Linked DNA regions of Homo sapiens: all the other regions are linked to region 1. The links are contacts of gene promoters, found by promoter capture Hi-C in blood cells and fetal thymus (Javierre and others, 2016). All regions are on one chromosome and are shown on one strand. The core of a region is centred on a gene start or on the middle of the fragment in contact, and the rest is flanking DNA. Distances in the headings are between cores, read along the strand shown. Region 1 holds the start of DDX1 (DEAD-box helicase 1). Region 2 has its middle 150 kb from the start of CYRIA. Region 3 has its middle 170 kb from the start of CYRIA. Region 4 holds the start of LOC105373444 (a long non-coding RNA gene).

What was found. Contacts are between HindIII fragments. The CHiCAGO score rates a contact against its expected background, and 5 or more counts as called.
Region 2: a fragment that was not itself captured here is called in contact with the fragment with the promoter of DDX1 in region 1 in 1 of 17 cell types (M2 macrophages); the score reaches 8.7 in M2 macrophages.
Region 3: a contact is called between a fragment that was not itself captured here and the fragment with the promoter of DDX1 in region 1, in 1 of 17 cell types (M2 macrophages). The highest score is 5.7, in M2 macrophages.
Region 4: a fragment that was not itself captured here is called in contact with the fragment with the promoter of DDX1 in region 1 in 1 of 17 cell types (M2 macrophages); the score reaches 5.3 in M2 macrophages.

What each region holds. Positions count from the first base shown.
Region 1 is chr2:15,590,361-15,593,747 of GRCh38, reverse strand. It overlaps DDX1 (DEAD-box helicase 1), which reads right to left and starts at 1,880. Exons shown (of 26, transcript NM_004939.3): 1 at 1,799-1,880. The coding sequence starts at 1,814. It overlaps LOC124905975 (a long non-coding RNA gene), which reads left to right and starts at 1,979. Exons shown (of 2, transcript XR_007086224.1): 1 at 1,979-2,288; 2 at 2,416-3,387. RefSeq lists an enhancer at 1,782-1,841. The HindIII fragment of the contact is 5,190 bases long and covers 1-3,252 here.
Region 2 is chr2:16,515,719-16,519,105 of GRCh38, reverse strand. No RefSeq gene overlaps it. Among named protein-coding and RNA genes, the nearest start is that of CYRIA, 150 kb to the left of the region's middle. The HindIII fragment of the contact is 3,095 bases long and covers 12-3,106 here.
Region 3 is chr2:16,495,902-16,499,288 of GRCh38, reverse strand. No RefSeq gene overlaps it. Among named protein-coding and RNA genes, the nearest start is that of CYRIA, 170 kb to the left of the region's middle. RefSeq lists an enhancer at 3,023-3,387. The HindIII fragment of the contact is 1,249 bases long and covers 882-2,130 here.
Region 4 is chr2:16,475,760-16,479,146 of GRCh38, reverse strand. LOC105373444 (a long non-coding RNA gene) reads left to right here and starts at 798. Exons shown (of 3, transcript XR_939753.3): 1 at 798-878. The HindIII fragment of the contact is 1,038 bases long and covers 994-2,031 here.

The sequences.
Region 1 (3,387 bases), core at 631-3,130:
TAATGAAGATCTAAAGTTGAATATCCAGGCAGACCTTCCTAAGAATTAACCTGTATTACAGTCTATGTTCTCTCTCCTAAAATGCAAACTGCTTGAAACAAAGGAGTGGTGTGTTCTTACTGCATACGGAATACTGCAAGCTGAAGCTCTTTGCAAAATTGTTATACAAGAAACAACATATCATTTTCAGTAAATTCCAGACAATCTCTTGTACCATTCTGGTCATGTTCCCTGCAAGTTTTCTTTGAAAGCGGACCTTAAGTATAATACTTTTAACAGTTAAGGAAAAATTAGAAACATTCGTGAAATTCCAGTTTTGTCTTATTTCATATCACAGACTTTTTCCAGTCCTTTACCTCTAACATTCATGAAATTTGTGTATGACTCCCAAAGATGTGAACCTATAAAATGACTACCTAGAACTATCCTACAGACCTTGGCTCTAAAATCGTTTTAGGAGAATGTTGGGAAAAGAAAAACAGCAACAACTCTGAGCAGTTTCCAATTGAATCCTATTAGAAGATGTAACTGAAACAGTCAGAAATCTTACATGACTGTTGCACTTTGGGAAGCCGAGGTGAGCGGATCACCTGAGGTCAGGAGTTCGAGACCAGCCTGGCCAACATGGTGAAACCCCCGTCTCTACTAATAATACAAAAATGAGCAGGGCATGGTGGTAGGCGCCTGTAATCCCAGCTACTCAGGAGGCTGAGGCAGGAGAATTGCTTGAACCTGGGAGGTGGAGGCTGCAGTGAGCCAAGATCACACCATTGCACTCCAGCTGGGGCGACAGAAGGAGACTACATCCCCCCACCCCCCCATTCTCCCCCCCAAAAAAGAAAAAAAATATCTTACATGACTGGAGATATGGAATTCCTAATATTCTTACAGAAGAAAACTAAAAAATATAAAATACTACATCTGAAGTCATCTTAAAAAGTTAATAACATTAAAGGACATTAGGCCTAACGTGATACATTTATATAGCAATAAACGTTACATAAGTGCTACATAAATGTATCACGTTTAGCGCATTTAAGGCTGATTACAGCTTCCTAAAACTGGATGCCTAACAGGAGGATGATAAAGCAAGAGGCGAAAATATCAACTGTAGGGTTCGATAAGCCATATCAAATCATATTTGGAATAAAGGAGGGTAGCAGACGGCAAATAAATATGAATTTTCCAAACTTATGTTGGACTGGTGCGTACGTTAATGAAAATGCTTTCCCTTTAGCTTCAACACTGAACATTAATGTTGATATAACAACGTTTAAGAACAAATAAAGATCAGGTTTATGCCTGGGACGTTTTGGAAGGGCCTGAAAAAACTGGACAGAGGCAGGATCGTCATTTTTCCCCAATGACTCCTCCCCACGCCGTCTCGCCTCTCTGCCTGGCCAAGCCCAGATGAGCCGCGGGCAGAAAAGGGTTCCCAAAGGGTCACTGCCACGTTAAGAGGCAGGAGGCCCAGGCGTCTGGGAGCCGCCAGAGCAACGCCGCCGCCTAGATTTTGCAGCCGAAGGTGCACTGGCAGGAAAGCCAAGTGGAGACTGGTAGAAGGGAAAGGGCAGGGGGAGGGACGTTCCGGCCCGCTCCTGGGAAGAATCGTCCTCCGAACCCGAGCCGCGGCCGCCCCTGATCCCGCAACGCGGGTCCATCAGGGACTGCAGCGGACAGCGCCCTTCTGTCTCCCTGACCCCTGTCCGCTCCCGCCCCTTTAGCTCTCCGCGGGCGGCCCCAGGGCTGAGGCGTGCAACAAGCCGCCCCACCACCCCCAGAGTTTCCACAAACGCACCGGAGAAGGCCGCCATCTTCACCCCGTCCTCCGCGGCTTCGCCTGCTCGCTCCCTCCCTCCCGACTGACACGGCGTGGCAGTGGCGGCGCGCGCTTCCGGCCCCTGGTCTTCGGCGTTCGGAGTCCGGGCAGGGACTCAGCCCCGGGAGAACGGTTCCGATGGAAGGAAAGGCCCGCGCCGGCCCCGCCTTATGCGCCTGCCGCTGAGCGGACCTCTGGGACCTAGGGCTTCTGGACGCCGCCTTCGTTCTGGGCACCATGTGTTCGGAGCACACCACGCGGTATCAGGGTCACAGCTACAGAGAAGGAAGCAGATGTTTGGTGATTAGGGTCATCCAGTGGGCTCAGGCTGACACCACACCGTGCCCTCCCCACTCAGTCCCCCAGCTTTCCAAAGGTGAGCAGGGCCTTGGTGTGTGAATGACCCGGAGAGATGGACTGGATTCATTGCCCTGAGCACCAATGCCAGTGAGTGCCTGGCAGCCAGTAGGTATTTGTTACATTTTTTTTTTAAACTAAGTAATGATTTAGGTCTCCCTCCCTTCACCCATGTTTGATGTCGCTTTTATAATTTCGGGTTTGACTTCCATGCAATTTTAACTCCTTTCTCTTTGCAGAGAGATGGGGAAAGTAAATGAGGAATCCTCCCAACCAGACACTCACTCTGTCAGGAAGGTATTAGAATCTTTAGATGAGGACTCTAAAATTCGGGAAAGTTAAGTCACTTATCTAAAGACACATATCTACCGAATGGCAGCGTGGGATCTGAGCCACATCTGCGCAATGCGAGGGCGCGTGCTGTGCTATCTGTAGCCTGCCCCAGAGTGTCATGGAGAAAAGTGGAACCCTCAGGCAAGATAGAATAGGGTTGCAGCGGCCGGGCGCGGGGGCTCACGCCTGTAATCCCAGCACTTTGGGAGGCCGAGGCAGGCGGATCACGAAGTCAGGAGGTCGAGACCATCCTAGCTAACACGGTGAAACCCCTTCTCTACAAAAAATACACACACACACACACACACACACACACACAGAAGAAGCCGGGTGTGGTGGTGCATGCCTGTAGTCCCAGCTACTCGGGAGGCTGAGGCAGGAGAATCGCTTGAACCCAGGAGGCGAAGGTTGCAGTGAGCCGAGATCGCGCCACTGCACTCCAGCCTGGGTGACCGAGCGAGACTCCGTCTCAAAAAAAAAAAAAAAGAAAAAAGAATAGGGTTGCAGCTACTCCGGAGGCTGAGGCATGAGAATCACATGAACCTGGGAGGCGAAAGCTGCAGTGAGCTGAGATCGTGCCACTACACTCTAGCCTGGGCGACAGAGGGAGAGTCTGTCTCAAAAAAATAAAAAATAAAAAAGATAGAATAGGGTTAGAAGTACAGAGTTGGGAACCATATTCTGAGTTTGGATTCTAGGTCTGCCACTTGCTTGCTGTGTGACCTTGAACAAGTCATGAAGCTTCTTTGGGCTTCAGTTTACTTACCTGTGAAATAGGGATGAACAATAGTACCTTTCTCATATGATAGTTATGAGGATCAAATAAAATACATAAAGCATCTAAAATAGTGCATAGCACATGGTGACAATATAACTAG
Region 2 (3,387 bases), core at 310-2,809, 930 kb before region 1:
CAGAGAAAGCTTCTCTAGGACAATGGCAGATGTTAAGCTGTGTCTTGAGTGGACAACAAATGTTTACCCAGTAGAGAAAGCATTTTCAGAAGAGGTAAAAGTCCTATATTTGATTAGCCCATAGGTTAAGCTGATTTTTTTTTTACTTACATGCACATATTCTCATTGGAGGATAAGTATAGCATTGCCCCAATATCATGGACCTCAAATTCTTTTTACTGTCCACCCTAGCTTTGGATAGCCCAAGATTTTTGCCCCCACCCTGGAGACTAATCAACTGAGCTTTAGATTCTGTCCCATTGCCTTACTAGACTACAACTTCTCAAGCTCCAGCTCCCTAGCTGCCTATGACTGGCTATTGGGAACCCCTCTGTGAGACAACCCCTGGATCTAGAGCCTTCACCTGGCACTTTTTGCCTTGGGTAGAATTACCTGTGACCTTGCAACTCATTCCTCTAGCTTTCAAGTTCTTCTACGGTGAGAATCATTAATCTCTGTATCCCCTGCCACCAACACAGGCTCTAGTAAAATGTTGGTGTAAACAAATGTTTCTTGAATTTAAAGTAACTGAACCTTAACCCAAGGATAAAAAGTGAAAACTGCAACAGTCACCAGATGGTCTGCATTCTTCTGGCAAACACTGCCATGTGAAGAACACCCAAATATGTAAGCTGGCTTTTGCGTATTTCATCCAGATGTTCGGCTTCAGGTAGAAGCAGACGAGGAAATCCTTAATGAACAGACTAGTGTTTCTTAACATGTCTAACTTCCAGACCTCCCTGTTGTCTCCTGTACTAAGGCTGCAGCTCACTCAACATTCTTAAATGGGCTGCAAAATAAAGTGCCTTGGGTTAGAACTGCAAGCAACAAGTGAAGTGGAGGGAGAGCAGAGGTACCTCCAAAGCCCTGCGGCAGGAGTACTCCAACTGTAGTGTTGGAACAAGGAGGCTGTGTGGCTGGAATAAGATGGGCAGAGAGCAGGAAACTGGAGAGCTAGGAGTGGGGTCTGGGCCATGGCAGAGCCAGCAGTGCCTTACTGGATTGGGACTCTGAGTTCCCTGAGTGAAATGGTAAGTCACTGTAGAGTTTTGAACAGAGGAATGACATAGTATAAATTACCTTTTCAAAAGAACATGCTGACTTATTTGAGACTAGCCTGTGAGGTGGGGCAGGGGAAAAGAAGGAAAATGGGGAGAGCCCTTAGGAAGCTACCACAGTCATCCAGGTAAGAAATGATGGCAACTTGGACTGGGGAGATCATGGCAGGAGTAGTGAGGAATGGCTGAATTCTGGATGAATTTTGCCTTCTATTTCCCAATTGTCTGTGCTCTGCCTCCAGACAAATGCCCATCCAAGAATGCTGCTCTATACTAGAAACCACACAGTACACCAACAATGTGCTTTTATTTTCAATAAGTGAACAAACAAACAGATGCACCAGATCCAGAATGATCTAGATGCTGGTTCTCAGAGACACACTCCCAGATATCTCACTTTGGCTTTACCCTGCCTCTTTGAAGGCCCAGAAGCTGAAGGAACAGAAACTGTGAATTATGCCTCCAACTGTGATGTGGGACAAGAAGAGCTGTTTCCAGAAAAAAATATAGACATATAAAGAGAACTGGTTGAATTTATTTTCTGATGCTTTTCTCACTTTGTGCCAGAAACATAAGCAGAGGGAATAAAACTGGGAATTTTGATCCCCTGAATGTAATTTAACAGAGAAGTCAATACCTGTAGGGAATGCAGGTGACAATGAGGGACAAAGAAGGCTGGCTGATTGGGACAGAAACCACCAGAGGGAGGAACACTATTGGGAGGAAATGACCAGATTCAGGTCCTCACAGTTAAGTAGGATGAAGGGTCTGGTCTCAGAAAGACCACTCAGATGAGCTTGCACATCCTGGGCTCCTCAGAGTGGTCCTCTCGGCTTCCCACACTCTGATGCAACATCAAGCACTGTCTCCTCACTCAGCCAACTTCCAGTGCGCAGAGGCAATTTATTGTGTGCAGGGCACAAGTGGTTCCATCTACATTCTGATCCAAACCGTGCAGCACTCCGGTGAGGCAGGAGATATCTTCATCTTACAAAGAAAATAGAGGCCCCAAGTTTGGAAGCGACATACGAAGAATTGCTTGGCAAGTTAAAGAGACCCAGTCTGTGAGTCACGTTTGAACCTCCTCTCTTCAAAACTATCTGGGCTTCCCAGCAGGGCCAGCATACCTCATCTCTGTGAGCAGTATGAGGGAACTTGGATGGGCTGGGGTGAGCAGCATGTCATGGGTAGGTCCAAGCACTGAGTCTCTTAGCCATGGGAGTAGCAGTGCCTAACAATCATTGCTCCAGACAGTCCCATATCAAGAAGCTGGAGTGCTTGTCCTCTTGCTTCCGTTTTTGGAGAATATGAGCTAGATCCATTTAAATGAGCCATTTTGATGACTGTAAAACTCCTTCTAGAACAATAGCACCTAACCTTGGCTGCACATCAGAATCACCTGGGCAGTTTGAACAAATACTGATACCCCTTTTATCCTGAGTTTTTCATTTAATTTATCCAGGGCATTCTAGTGGAGAGTTAAGGTGAAAAAACAGTACTTTAGAAAGTCTTCTTTCAGTGTCTATACACATGTTGTCTATGCAAGAATTAGGACAACTAAAATATTTAATTATACATGTATTCAGTAATATGTAAGCTATTATAAATACTATTGCAATTTTAACATCCAAAAATATAACATTTTCCCCCGCTGTTTTGGATTCTCTTGGTAGCATAAATTTCAAAGAACAGAATTAGCTTATTGAACTAGCAGAATTAGCTGATTGAAACGTAAGAACAATTTTAAAGTTCCTGATGCAAATTGACAAATGGTCCTCCAAAAATCGTACACCAATTTGTGTTCCCTTAATTTTTTAAAAAATAGGAATGCTCATGTCCAGCTTCCCCATCACCACAGCTTTTCAGTCATGGAATGGGCTTTCTTAGGGGGTAGGGAGCTTCTCATTATTGGGGATGTTCATGTGTATCTAAAGGGCGATTTGCTGAATGTGAACTGTATGCAGCCACTCCCTGAGTTTGGGTGGGAAATGCAGGACACACAGAAAGCTTGGCTGCAAGATCCCGCCCCTGGTCCTGGCTATTTACTACTTCAGGGAGAGCCTGAATCCACAAGGCTGTTTTCAGGCGATTGATGGGCAGGTCTAGGGTGGGAAGGAAGGTTTACTATGTAAAATGCTCAGGAGAGGCTGGGACCCATCAGTGTTAGGGAAATACTGCTGGAGTCAATGTGTGAGAATGACTGTGAGCAGGACAATGAGGGTGATGAAATGGAAAGGAAGATTGTGAGCTTCCCAAAAGGCTTCCCTGGGCTTACATTATCTTTCAGCAA
Region 3 (3,387 bases), core at 257-2,756, 910 kb before region 1:
GGTGTCCTGAGGACTGTGAAGGTGGGGAAGACATGAGAGGACATCAACCTTCTGTCCCAGTGCAGTGGCCCCTGGAGTTCTGCTTAGGGGGATTGGGTCCTCATGAGTCACTGTTTTTGCATTATTTATTTGTTTATTCACCTAGGAAGATAGCTTCCTTATTCACGCCTTTTCTGGCATTTTAACACATCATGGCCTAATCCAGAAAGTCTAGTGTATTCTTGATGCTGGCGAGGTTGTGGAGAAAAAAAGAATGCTTATACACTGTTGTTGGGAGTGTAAATTAGTTCAACCATTGTGGAAGACAATGTGGTGATTCCTCAAAGACCTAAAGACAGAAATATCATTTGACCCAGCAACCTCATGATTGGGTATATACCCAAAGGAATATAAATCATTCTATTATAAAGACACATGCACACATATGTTCATTGTAGCACTACCACAATAGCTAAGACATGGAATCAACCTAAATGCTCATCAATAACAAACTGGATAAAGAAAATGTGGTAATATATACCATGGAATACTATGCATGCATGAAAAAGAACAAGATCATGTCCTTTGCAGGGACATAGACAGAACTGGAGGCCATTATCCTTAGAAAACTAATGCAAGAACAGAAAACCAAATACCACCTATTCTTGCTTATAAGTGACAGTTAAAAATGATGAGAACGCATGGACACATAGAAGGGAACAACACACAATGGGGCCTATTGGAGGGTGGACGGTGGGAGGAGGGAGAGATCAGGGAAAATGACTAATGGGTACTAGGCTTAATACCTGGGTAATGAAATAATCTGTACAACAAACCTCCATGACACAAATTTACCTATATAACAAACCTGCACATATATCCCTGAACTTAAAGTAAAAGCTTAAATAAAAGAAAGTCTAGTATATTCTTTCTCCGCTTCTGTGTCCTTGGACCTAGAAGAAATTAATGCATTCTGAATTTGTATCCCACTGGTTTTCCCCTTTGTCAGCAAGTCTTCATGAGTTTTCTGAAGGCCGCCTTTCATCTCCTGTGTCTACCCTTATGCAGTGGCAGAAGACAAAGGTAAGGAAAAGACTGTGATGGTCTCAGGAACAAGGAGTGAGGGTGGCGAGGTGGTGGACAAGAGCATCACAGAACCTTTCCAAGAATCACCTCCATTTGCTCCTCCAGATCAGCTCTTTACCCTTCTCGTCCCTGCTCTGTGCCCTGGGTAGTGATCTGGATGGACTCCACTATTTGACCCCCTTGCCATCAGGTTCCAGTTGGGTTTGTCAGGATATTAATGAGCAGCTTCACGCCCACCACCCCCACCCCCACCACCTCTGGGCTGCAGGTTTAACAATGCCTGAGTTCCTCTACTCTTGGCCTGGGCCCTCTCCTATCACCACAGTGCTCAGATTGCAGGGGTAACCACTCCTCTTCTTAGGCTTTCAGGCCTACAGATAGTATCAACTTTCCAATCTTGATGGTCCTTGGATGCTCCATCTTTCCTTCCTGAAACTCTTTACTCTTCTTGTACTTATGTGATTATTGCCTTTAAAGCCTGCTGGTATAAAGCAAGCTATAAATAAAATATTTAATGGAACAGATTATGTGCAAATACAGAGGAGAAAGGGCATGTACAAGATAATGATAATCCTGGACTTGGAGTCAGGGTATTGAGATCTGGGTTCTATCTCAGCTCCATCACTAGTGCTATATCACTTTGCTTCTCTAACACATAGTTTCTCAGTCTGTGAAATAAATTAGTTGAACCTTTCTGAGATGAAATATTCAAAGCAAGATCCTACCGAGGAAGACCAGAGCCTGTTAATCTGTGCAATGCAGTCTGTACACACTGCTGCCTGAGTCTCAGGTTGTGGTTGGTTGATGGGACAAAGAGATGTTGATGGATTCCATGCAACCAGGCTACTTGTGACTTGATCATCTAGTGGAAACTAGACTAGATAATTGCCCTACTTACCTGTCAGCTCATTTGTTTCTCTCTCTTGACTTCCACATCTAGATCCAAGTACTTCTGCCTAACTGTCAATAGTCCCCAAATCCAACATATTATGCAATATGTTATCCTACTTGCTACTCTGCTGAACTGCTGATCTCACTTACTCTTGCCAGTCTCACCTCAAAGCTTTTGCTTGAGTGGCCCCCAGCAGGTGGAGAATCTTCTCTTCCCTTACCTTTACTAATCTCGATCTTCCCAGTCTGCAAGAGTTCACCCAAGTACCACCTCTTGTAGAAAGCCTCCCTCCCCTGTCTCTTTTAGCCTAGCTTGATCTCTCCTCCCTCTGCTAATGGACAGTCACTCACTGATCTGTGCCAGTCCATTGGGTGCTAACTTGTACTCTGACCATTTTTGCTGTGCCAGCTTTGCCTCTTCACTTCCTTGAAAGTCCAGCCTTTCATTTGTCACAGTACATGTTGCACAATGCTGGGCGTATGATAGCATTTAATCAAATCTTGTCAGTTTATAATTTGAGGTAATGTCTCATTCATCTGGCACCTTGGGCTTTTCCAGATAACTGAAGTTGAGCTTGTCAAACACCAAACAAGTATAGTAAGCTCTTTTTAATAGACATCTTTCTGAAATGTATTTGACATTTCCAGAAATTCTGAATTCCCATCTGCCATACATAACTACGTAATTTCAAAACCACTCAGAGATGTCATTCTAAACACCCATTAGCATCCTGAGCAGTAATGCAGATCTGTATCTGGTTTTAGGTCCTTTGTCTCCTCCCTCGGTATCTTGCAATGCCAACTGTGATTTTCTTAGGACTCACATAACTGTCTCTCCTGAATGTCTTCTTCAACCATTCTTTTCCTAATTACTGTGTTTCTTTTACTAAGGTCCAGGAAACCAAATCACTAGAAGTCTCCAGAAAACACTCCCTGCACACCAATTTGATGCCAGGGAATAGTATAAATAAAGCATGACACAGGCATCAACAAGCTTAAACTCTCAACAGGCATAGCCACAATACAGAATGGCAAAGGCCATATGGAAGGTACAACCTAGAAGACAGAGCCACAAACTGTAGGCAGTAGGAAGATGTAGTTGCAGCTCAGGGAGCAAGGAAATTTGAGATAAACTCTGAGAATATGCAGGAGTTCACCTGGAAGAACAAACAGGAATAAAATTTCCAGCGGAAGAAACAGCATTCTTGAGTAATTGTTGGAGAACAAGAATCTAGATTTCATAAGGCTTTGCAAAAGGGCACGAGCAACAGTGCACATAGCCATTAATGCTAGAACTTTCAACAGCTAATGTGGGCACTCAGGGGACTCTTTTGATGAGCTCAGGATCAAAAGGTCCTGAATGAGTCAGGTTTCTGGGAAACGGACCTGTGGATTAATGGCCTCTAACTGTGCTTTTGCATGTTAGCTATT
Region 4 (3,387 bases), core at 263-2,762, 890 kb before region 1:
TATTTTACCATAGTTCCAGAACTACAGGAGATACTCAGTGCATATACACACTTCTTACCACAAATTGAGCCAGATACTAGGATCATGAGAGGGAGATGAGGGGACTCAGCTATGACTGAGTCATAGTCTAAGGTGTTGGGATATTAGTCAAGACTAAAAAGGACCACAATGCATGAGTCATGAGAGAAATGCAACCCAAGCACTCTAAGGGGAGACCATACTCCACAGGCTTTGATGGCTAGAAATGACCTGACTTGAAATATAACTTTTACAAAGAAGAGTGTGAAAAATCATGTTTAGCAGTTCTTACACCTTGCCCAATGCCCAGTATAGAGCAGAAACACAATACAAAAGGTTTGTCAAACTGCTGACCAGCATGTAGAGCTCTACTGGGTTTGGCAGGACTATAGACATTAAGGGCTAGGATTAGTATTTCATTCTGTAGTCAATGGATACTCACTGGAAAGTGTTTGAGGAAGTGAGGGGTGTGAGCTTTGTTTTAAGATAAGATGTTTATGTCTGTGTCATAACAAGCAGAAGGGATTGGAGGAAACAGGCTGAAGACAGATGCTGCAGTGGGAGTGTGGAGAGATGTGAAGGCAACAGCAGGAATAATGATAAGATTGGTTGTGAGGTACTGTATAGATGAGATGGATAGGACCAGAGATGCACCTGAGAGCAGGAGGAAAAGGAGAGGAAAATGGTCATGTGGGTGCCAGATAGTACTGCATAACCTCTCCTTTTGAATTTGAGGTACCTGCGTCTGCCAAGAGTAGCTTTTCCATTTCACAACCATCACACTTTCCTGTGAGTTCAGAGTTAATGAAGACATGTGGATGCAAAAGGAAAACTTGCAGAGCAAAGTCATTGCCAAACAGGTGAGTTTCCTCAGGAAATTATGAAGGGGTCTCTTTCAATTTCCACTCCCACCCATCTTTCACTGGGTTCCTGTCACAGGCTGCAAGAGCTTTGGCAGAGGGATCTCACAAAGCTTTGATCCTTTTATGAGGCAGCTCGTCGGGACTTGCGCTTGCGGCACCCGCCTCCTCCTTTCCCGGGCCCCTAGCTCCCATTCCCAGCTACTCTAACTACGCTTTAGGAATCCATCACATACCATGTATGTGTAACTTCTGGCCCAGGTGGTCCTCCATGGTACAAACAAACCTGGAATCTCCCTGAATAAAGTCAACCTTCAGCTTTGCAAATATACAGGGGATATTTTTGCTTGCCTATCTGGAATCTCCTTCTCCCTTCATTCCTGACTTTTATTTTGATATCCACCCATTCCCCATCCACTTCTGTGCTTTAAGATAGCTGACCTTACTCAGTTCCCAGAGTGGGTGTGATTGGTTCAAGTAATTCCCCTGATGGACTCAGAAATTGTAAGGCTACATCTTGATCCAGTGAGACCTGAAACATACTTCCTGATGTTTCTGCAAAAGAAATTTCTTCACTCTAGAAAGCCACCAGAAGAGATGCTGTTTCTCTCTCTCTGGACAAGGTTTTGATCAGAGTCCCAGAACTGTTGCAGCCATCTTGTAAAGGTTGAAACTATTGCACAGGGAAGGACTGAGAGAAAAATGTAAAATCCCCTTCAAAATTTAAGTCAGTTTGAATTGACCTGAAGATGTTTTTTAATAAGTACCATCTTGAAAAATCAAACACATACTTTTGTTGTCAAAATAATTGGGGGTGGGGGATGTTACTGACATTTAATATATGGAGACCAAGAAGCGAGATGGAATTTGTGGGATAAGTCTGCATTACAAAGAATCTTCCCTCATATTGCACAATTTTTTAATGACCCATTAGACTTCCAGGTAGGTGAAAAACTCCTTTATTATCTGAGCCTAGAGCCTAACTCCATTTTGCACATACATTAAGTGTTTTTACTTTGTATCCCTTTTGATACACACTGAATTTTCCACTGTTTAAATCAGGGGAAGATTGTGCTTTTGTTTGAAACACTTTCAAGATTTGTTCACCTTTTCAGATGATCAGGTTACCAATGATAATGCCACTTATGAAGCTTGAGTTGCCAAGAAAATATGTTTCTATTAGTCTGCTTTTATTACCACATGGTGATTCTATCTCACAGTCGAAACTCTTGATGACTCAATCATGTGTTCTAGTGCAATTATGAGACAACATTTATATATTAATACATGCACGTCTTTCTATTATATATTACTGTCCTTTCATTTCTCCACTATACTACTTTTAGGGCATGATATATTTTTAATTATATGATGGATGGGTTAAATTATCTATGAGCTCAATCACAGAGTAGTAAAGGAGATATTACAAACTAATTAAAATTAAAAGGTGGTGTGTGTCTGCTGGGAGGAGGATGAGAGGACAGTCATCCTCCTAAAGAATCCTAACTGATATAAAATTAGGCCTCAAGAAGTGGGAATTTTTAAAAGAAAAGGCCCTCTAATGGAGAGTTGGCTCAATGGTTAGAGTGGGTGAAAAAGAATGCTAAGACTCCTCTAGGTCAGGCTGGGATGTTAGAGGTGCCCGGTTTTGCATCTGAAAACCTTTAGTGGTATCAACCTTATACTTACTTTGGAATGATGATCATGTACCTGTAAAGCAGTAGACTTAGAGGAGGTGGTTTAAAAATTCAGAGAAGTATTGGCTGTCTTGCAGCATTCTGTCAGGCCTTAGAGGAAAGAGAAAAGTCTTCAACCAATTAGTGTGTAAGCAGAGTGAGAAGGGAGGCCTTTACTAAGGGAGGCTTTCTCCCACTGTGGATTATAAAGCCTGGAAATACGTAGTCAGCAGAATTGGAATAAGCAAACACTATCCCAGCTAAAGTATGCAGAGAAAGAAGCAGAAAAATGAGATATATGAAGATAAAATGTGGGTCCAAACAAGCATGATCCCCTGAACTTCCCCTATTGGACATTCTCAGTCTGACAGGGAGACACCCATACTCATGGTGAAGAGGTAGCTGTGATGCAAGCAGTGACAAGGACCCAGTATCAGGACCTTCCCAGCCCCATGTGAAGCTATTGTCTCACCTTGCCCAGATGCACATAACTTGTGGAGTCCAGATCTAGGAGAAGCAGGGCTAAAAAGAGCTAGATGTTGCTTTTTTGTCTAAGGCCTCCCTACCTGGCCCAATTTTCTACCTGATCTTTTATCTAAGGCCTTCCTTTCTGGTCCAAATTTCTCTTGTTCCTGGGAACTTTAAACTCCTAACAGTTTTTATATTTGTCCTCTTCAAATCCCTTGTTGAAATGTATCTGCAATGTTGCAGGCAGGGCTTAATGGGAAACATTTGAGTCATGGGGGCGGCTCCCTCATGAATGACTTGTGCTGAGGTAACGCATTCTCACTCTATTAGTTCAGGTGAAAGCTGGTTGCTTCAAGAGTGGTAAC